Linked DNA regions of Homo sapiens: region 1 is linked to region 2. Evidence: promoter capture Hi-C in 16 types of primary human blood cells and fetal thymus (Javierre and others, 2016). All regions are on one chromosome and are shown on one strand. Each heading gives the region's core, a stretch centred on a gene start or on the middle of the fragment in contact. The rest is flanking DNA. Distances are from core to core; before and after follow the strand shown.

What was found. Contacts are between HindIII fragments. The CHiCAGO score rates a contact against its expected background, and 5 or more counts as called.
Region 1: the fragment with the promoter of PUF60 here is called in contact with the fragment with the promoter of MROH6 in region 2 in 7 of 17 cell types (erythroblasts, neutrophils, naive CD8 T cells and 4 more); the score reaches 10.8 in erythroblasts.

The regions. Positions count from the first base shown.
Region 1 is chr8:143,827,568-143,831,516 of GRCh38, reverse strand. It overlaps PUF60 (poly(U) binding splicing factor 60), which reads left to right and starts at 2,202. Exons shown (of 12, transcript NM_078480.3): 1 at 2,202-2,237. The coding sequence starts at 2,214. LOC107986985 (a long non-coding RNA gene) reads right to left here and starts at 2,237. Exons shown (of 3, transcript XR_001746138.2): 1 at 2,113-2,237; 2 at 1,479-1,671; 3 at 1-808. It also overlaps a transcript of NRBP2 not described here. RefSeq lists enhancers at 911-2,110, 1,431-2,130 and a silencer at 1,915-2,484. The HindIII fragment of the contact is 7,973 bases long and covers 1-3,949 here.
Region 2 is chr8:143,570,739-143,574,208 of GRCh38, reverse strand. MROH6 (maestro heat like repeat family member 6) reads left to right here and starts at 1,437. Exons shown (of 14, transcript NM_001100878.2): 1 at 1,437-1,788; 2 at 2,024-2,176; 3 at 2,388-2,542; 4 at 3,215-3,332. The coding sequence starts at 1,495. It also overlaps a transcript of NAPRT not described here. RefSeq lists an enhancer at 2,079-2,928. The HindIII fragment of the contact is 15,945 bases long and covers 1-3,470 here.

The DNA.
Region 1 (3,949 bases), core at 953-3,452, 260 kb before region 2:
CTCTAGTAGCTAGGACTACAGGCGTGTGCCACCATGCCCAGCTGGTTTTTTAAAATTACTTTTTGTAGAGACGTGGCCTCACTATATTGCCCAAGCTGGTCTTGAACCCCTGGGCCCAAGTGATACTCCTGCCTCAGCCTCCTGAAGTGCTGGGAAGGCAGGCATGAGCCACTGTGCCTGACCTGGACTTCTCTTTTGAGATGCAGTCATGGTGGTGGCAAGAACACAGGCTCTGGAGCCATTCTACTGCTGCTCCCTGCCTTGTGATGTTGCCCATCAGTAAAAATGGGGTAACAGCTGTATCCATTGCATAGCACTGGGTTGTGAGGATCCCATGAATGAATGTGTGTAAGAACAGTCCTGGGCACCATGCATCCTGCGTGCACATTATTGCCAAGGGAAGCTGTCCCCAGAGGGTGGTGCCTGTGGCTTCCCCTGGTGGTGGTGGCAGACCAGCCCCCCACCTCCCATCCACCCCCTCCATTGTGGAGGCCTTGTGTGCCAGGCTAGCCCTAAGAGCACCCACCTGTGTTACTGCTATTCTGTTTTCCAGCTATCTGGTTCTGTCATTATACATTCTGGAAGACTTCATCTTAAAAGCCTATTGAATTGCTCACTTTCCCCTCATGTTTTATTTCTAAGAGCTCTTTCTCATCCCGAGGTTTCTTTCTCTATAGCCCCCAGTTCCTTTTTATTGACTGAGAATGGCATTTTAGTTTTCATTTTTCTTCGGCTTCCTTTATCGTCTCTGTTTCTTCTGAGTCCCTTTTCTTCTTTCTCAGGTGTCTGGTGATCCTGGGCTGTCCAGCTGCATTGAAGAGTGAGATGCTTTTAGTGGCTGGGGCTTATGACCTGGTGAGCTTCGAGGCCAGGGATCTGGCTGGGCCATTCTACTGGGCAACACTCTACCCCTAGGTGCCCTGCCAGTCTTTTCTTTTGAGCTAGGAGCTGCTGCAGAGAGGAGCCCTCTTCTCTGAGAAGCCTGATGGCATGCGGGTGGTCAGACCCAGCCCAGGGGTGGAGGCAGGGGTAGGACCCAGAGTCTCACTTACTCCCAGGCTTTCAGACAGGGCCTTGCTTGAGCAGGGCCTCAGAGCTCCTCTCCTGGAGCTCACGTCTCAGACACTGCAGTGCCTGCCAGCCCCGGTGGGTAGGGACAGAGGTCTGGGGTTTCCTTTCTGTAGCTGTGCTTTCACCCACGACCCTCAGACACTGGCCTCCATAGCCAAGTGGGCTGGAGTAGCTCTCGCTGTCCACCTTTCTTAAGCTCTGCAATATCCCAGCTCTTTGCCCTTGCAGGGTTTGTCTTTATAAAACCCCTTTCCTATAATTTTGGAAGGTTTCAGGAGGGAGGCGGGGAATATTCTGCCCTATTTAAGTAGAAGTGTCTGTATTAAATTCTAAATGTTCCCAGGGTTGAAAGGAGGCCTGCCCGGGATGCCTTGTGGCCTTAGGCAGCTGAAGGTGCCTGAGCTTACAGATGTGGCTTCTTCGGATGACCGAGTTGGGGTCTCGGGACTGGGTGCAGCAGATGGCAAATGTCCAGGACAGGCAGCTTTCCCAGCAGTACTGACAGACACCTTGGGCCATGAAAGCCAGTTCAGGGACTAACGGGGCCTGCGGGCTGCGGGTCTAGCGACTGATGTCAGCCAACCTAGGGTCATCGGTTCCCTGGAAGGAGAAAAAGCTGCCAATTGAACGGGGCCTCCCGGTCCCAGGGATGTCGCGACGCGGGGACGACGCATCTCACGACGTCAGCCTGAAACACGCGGGCCTTTCATCACCCGAGACTCCTCCAGCCCAGGAGGGCCCCGCTCTTTCGCCTGCCTCCTGGGGGAGAGCCTCTGGACGACGCACGCGACAGCGTTTTCTCCAAAAAAGGCAGAGAAGAGAAGCGTAGCAGTGGCCGCAAGGGCGACGGGCGGCGAAGGGTACTACGCACGCCCGCGTCGGCCACGCGGAGAGATACGCCCGACTCGAGTCCCGCGGCGCACGCCCCTAGACGCCCGAGGTGCGCGGGCCACGCCCCTCGCCCGGCCAAGAGCACGCCCCTTCCGTCGCCCCTCCCGGGGGCGTTTACCGTTCCTCCCCGCCCCGGAAGCGCGTTCTTACCTCCTTCCTCGCGAGAGTTCCGTGCACCGGCACCCAGATCGCGCGAGACAGCGGAAGGAGCAAGAGTGGGAGGCGCGCGCGGAGGCCGCGACGGACGCAAGATGGCGACGGCGACCATAGCTCTCGTAAGTGAGCCCCCCCATGAGCGCGGGCGGCCCTCGGCTTGCGGGGCCGGGTCGTCGACCCAGCCTGGGCGCGGAGGGCCTCCCAAGAACGCGGCGGTCTTCCCAGGTCCCGCGCGGACTCCCTCGTGTCCCCGGGTCGCGTGAGGCGGGGGCGGGGCGGGCGCGCGCCGGCGGCCGGCTCGCGGCCTCAGCTTCCGGCCTGCGGACCCCAGCTTCCGGCGGGGCGGGGCGGGGGCCTGGGCGCGGCGTGTGGCCCTTGCGGGCGAGCCTGGCGGGGTTGCGTTCCTGTCCGCTAGGTCCGGCAAGCGGGGGTCGTCGTCCTCCCTTTGCCGACGGGGGTGTGCGCCGTGGTCACGACGGAAGCGGGGTTCTGGGGGTGACGCGTGGGCCTTCGGGTTGATGGGATCAGAAGGGGACGGGACCTGTAGAAAGGGGCCTGCAGCTCAGAGCATGGGGCGGCCTTGGCTCACTACGCCTGCAGCTGTGAATTCGTTCTCCGGTGCTGGAGAGGGATCTGGTTATCTCCATTCTCTTGTCTCCACGTGGAAAGGAAGGACGTGCGCTCTCATCCTACGTGTTTTGAGAAATCGCATTGTCCCCAGCTCTGCGGGAGGATCTGGGGACGCAGTGGGGAACCAGACAGGCAGTTGGAGGTCTAGTGCGCACCAGAAGCCAGTTCCCACCCAGGGTGCCATTTGCTGGGCGCCCTAGGGAGCTGCGTGGGCATCCAGAGGAGTGAGTCGCCCCCTGCTCTGCTCAGTGCCCACTTCCCCGGGCAGGGCAGGCGTTATTAACGTAGAGGGAGAACACCCATGCACACAACACATGCACGATGAAGTCTGGTCTTTCCTTCTCACCACTTAGCTTATAGGACCTAATCCCCTTTTGGACCTTTCTCAGCCGCAGTTTACCCCTGTATTACTTGTCACCCTTCCCCCAGCCCACACCCAGCGGGATGGGATAAGGTCTGTTTGAGAAGACAGCTTGGGCAAATGGCTGAAGGCTGGACTGGCAGGACCAGGGAGTGTCCTTAGACTGCCATTGCCAGGCCCCCAGCGGGCGGGCTGGTCCCATGTCCCACTGAGGCAGAAACCAGTTACTAGGGGGAGAGAGGCATTTACACAAGATACCCAGCTTGCGAGGGCAGCCCAGTGTGTGATTCACAGGACTGGCTAACTCCACTCTTTCTACTATGTCCTTTCTCTTGAAGCCACAGGAGTAAGTGACCTTTGAGGGGCACTCCAGAGAGAAAGGATGTAAGGGTTGAGGACCTGGTGACTGTCTTCAGGCAGCAGTCAGAGAGTTGATGGTGAAGGAGGAGGAGGCTCAGAGACAAGGACTGGACATGGGAAGGTGGAGGAGGAGAGTGGATGCCTGACTCCCCTAGCACCCGCAGAACAGCGCCCTGTGCTCATGAGGGTTAAATGGGGGCTCAGGTCTGCTGTGGCGTGGTGCCAGATAGGTGGTGTCATTGTTGAGTTGGACGTGGGCCATAACTGACCCCACGAACGGGTTGTCTGTTGGGGTGTTTGTTGCCATCCAAATTCTGTTGGGTTTAATACGTGTTTTTTTATCGTCAGGTTTCAGGCTTGCATCCGGCTCCAGGAGTGAGCTGTAGCCTGTGGTCTAACCCATTCCTCTTTTAATCATTGGGATGGAAAGGCTTCTAGAAGGGTTATCTGTTCCCACCGTCCTGGTTGGGCACAGTGATG
Region 2 (3,470 bases), core at 188-2,687:
CTCCAGGAGATGACTCAGCCCCAGACACCTGGCCAGAGTGGCACTGCACGTGGCTGTGCTGGGCTGGCCCTGCCTCTGCACCAGCAAGTTCCTGATCTCAGGGTTCCGCCAGTTTGGGCAACGTGAGCTTCAAGAGGAACTGCTTGGGGGAGAGGTTCTAGGCTTGGCAGGAAGTGGAGGCTGGGGGCCTGGGCCTCTCTTGTCGAAGCAGCCTGAGGTGGCACAGACAGGCAAGGGTGTGGGGGGAATGCTGACCGCCTGGGGCACTTCCGTCTGCCCAGGCATTCCACCAGACCAGCTCACCTGGCTCCCCGGGCTTCAGGGTGGGCAGCACCACTGTGTGGTTGGCTGAGGGTGGAGGGTGGGGACTTGGAGCAGAGGCCCAGTCCAGCCAGCCCCGGGGAGTACGAGCTAGGAGAGAGATACAGACTCACACACATTGGACAGAACACACCACACCCCAGGCACCCCCAGGGCACCCGCGCACTCCGAGGGGCCCAGCCAGAGTGGCTGTATTCTTCCGTTCTTGCACTGCTGTAAAGAAATACCTGAGACTGGGTAATTTCTAAGGAAGAGAGGTTTAATTGGCCTGTGGTTCTGCAGGTACAGGAAGCATGGCTGGGGAGGCTTCAGGAAACTTACCATCTTGGTGGAAGCGGAAGCGGGCAGGTCTTACATGGCCGGAGGAAGGGGTGGGGCGGTGCCACGCACTTCCAGACAACCAGATCTTGAGAAGTCTTATCATGGGAACAGCACCAAAGGGGGAAGTTGCCCCCAGGATCCAATCACTTCCCACCAGGCCCCACCTCCAGCACTGGGGATTACGTTTCAACATGAGATTTGGCCAAGGACCCAGGACCCAGAGGGGCCTGCACAAGCTCTGGAGGGGCCACCGCTCCTCTGGTGTCTTCACTGCCCCCTCCACACCTCCGGGCTGCCCCAAGCTCACCCAGTCATGCCTGTTGCAAGGTGTCTGACAGAGCCAGCGTGCAGGGGGCGGAGCCAGCGTGCAGGGGGCGGGGCCAGCCCCTAGCCCCAGGCCCAGTGGGGAGCTGACTGCTGCTTGGGGGCTGAATCAGGCCTCGACTCAGGGTGGGGCCCAGACTCCTGGACCCTGCGAGGACCTCCTCAGAGCTGTCCACAACTGCCCTGAGCTCCCTGGTCAACAGGGGCTGGTAGTCAGGGTGGGGGCCCTTCTCCCCCTTTCTTCGTGGATCTGCCAGCTCTTGGGGATCCTGTTCTCAGGGCCCTGGTGGGTAGAGCCACACCACAGGCACTCAGGCTGCAGGTGGCCACTCCCCTCCAGCAGCCCAGGCAGGAGGGCCCCTCAAAGGCCCATTGTAGGCACGTCCGTGTGGCTCCCCAGCCCCCGCAAGCTCACGCTAGCGCACGCCACCACGCCCGTCCGTGGTCCCGCCCGGGGCGGCTTCTAGGTCAGTCCTGGGCACAACTTCGCAGGAGGAGCAGCGGCAGGTGCTGCAGGCAAGGGCCGCCATGGCTGGGGGTGTGTGGGGCCGGAGCCGGGCCCGGGAGGCTCCCGTGGGGGCTCTAACCCTGACAGCACTGACTGAAGGAATCCGGGCCAGGCAGGGGCAGCCCCAGGGACCCCCTTCCGCAGGCCCTCAGCCCAAGTCCTGGGAGGTCAAACCTGAGGCTGAGCCACAGACCCAGGCACTCACCGCCCCCTCTGAGGCAGAGCCTGGACGTGGGGCCACCGTCCCTGAAGCTGGCAGCGAGCCCTGCTCCCTCAACAGTGCCCTGGAACCAGCCCCTGAGGGGCCCCACCAGGTGACGGGGGAGGGAAGGGATGTTGTGCGAACCGGCCTGGGGGTCCTGTGGATGGTAGGTGGAAGGCGGGGTGGCAGGGGGGCGGTGCTGGCCCCGGGGGAGGTCAGCGTGAAACAGGCTGGTGAGCAACAGAGGAGCAAGGGATTTTGTAGGAAGCCAGGTGGGAGGCCGAGGGACCAGGAGGAGAGCTAGGAGAGGTTTGGGCACTTCAGACGCCCCACCCATCCTGCCCTAGGTTCCCCAGAGTTCCTGGGAGGAGGGAGTTCTTGCCGACCTCGCGTTGTACACGGCTGCCTGCCTGGAGGAGGCTGGCTTTGCAGGGACCCAGGCGACAGTGCTCACCCTGTCCTCAGCCCTGGAGGCCCGGGGCGAGCGGTTGGAGGACCAGGTCAGCCTTCACCCACTTCATGCCCTACAGAATCCTGCCGGTTCGGGCACCAAGGTGGTGGGAGGGGCCTGGAGAGCGCAGCCTGACCCTGCCATCTTCAGGCTGCTCCTGCCAGGCGGGATCAGGGTGGGGGTGGAGGTGGGGTGCAGGCCAGAGGGGAATGGACGGTGGAGGAGGCCTGACTGCTGAAGTCTGCCCCCTTCCCCACCAGGTGCATGCTCTGGTGCGTGGGCTGCTGGCGCAGGTGCCCAGCCTAGCGGAGGGGAGGCCCTGGAGGGCGGCCCTGCGAGTGCTGAGCGCACTGGCCCTGGAGCATGCGCGGGACGTGGTGTGTGCGCTGCTACCCCGCTCTCTGCCCGCCGATCGGTAACCCAACCGTCCTGGCCCTGCGGTCCCCACGCGGCTTCCTTCCCTCTTCCCGCTTGGCGGTGGAGTCTGGCCCCAGAAGAGGGAGCTGAAAAGGGGCAGGGCCTCCTTATTCCAGCCCCGCGATGACTCATGCCCCGTATCCATTCCCGCTCCCCTCATTTTTAGCTCCGCAAACTCCCCCCACACTCCTGCCACAGAGTTTCTGATGCTGGGCTCCTCTCTTGGAGCCACCTTCTATCTTCGGGTGGCCTCCCCTGGAGACCGTCCTGGGGTTGGCTCCGGAGTGGGGTGAATGAGGCTGGGGGGCTAACGTGCCTGGACACCCCTGGCTCTTTGGTTAATTGGCCCCAGAAGTTATCTTTGGTTTTATTCTCTGTGGCAATTTTTTTCTTTTTAATAATGCCAGGTTTGTTTCACTGTCGCTGACCCAACGGGACTCCCAGTGGGTCCCCACCCTGCAGCTCAGCTTGAGATAGGCTATGTTGTGGTCTGCACAATTAACCCTTCATTTGTTTCTCTGAGATTTGGGGATGGGGGGAGATGGGAGGGGTTTCCTGCCCCTCCCCTGCTGGAGTCCTACTGGCTGCCTCCACCCTGGCTGGGGACTCCCTACATTCCCTGGACACCCACCCATCTCTTGTCTCACACCAGCCCCCTCCAAACCCTCAGGGTAGCAGCCGAGCTCTGGCGCAGCCTAAGCCGTAACCAGCGTGTAAATGGGCAGGTGCTGGTGCAACTGCTGTGGGCGCTGAAGGGTGCTTCGGGGCCGGAGCCCCAGGCACTGGCGGTAGGTGGCTCCAGCCATTACCAGGGGGTGGGGGCGGGGGTGGGGGGTGGCGAGGAGCGGGGAGGATGGGCATAGGGAGTTTGCACCTAGGTAACTGCTCCTGGAATGTCCCATGCGTGTCTGAGGCTGTCCCCATCC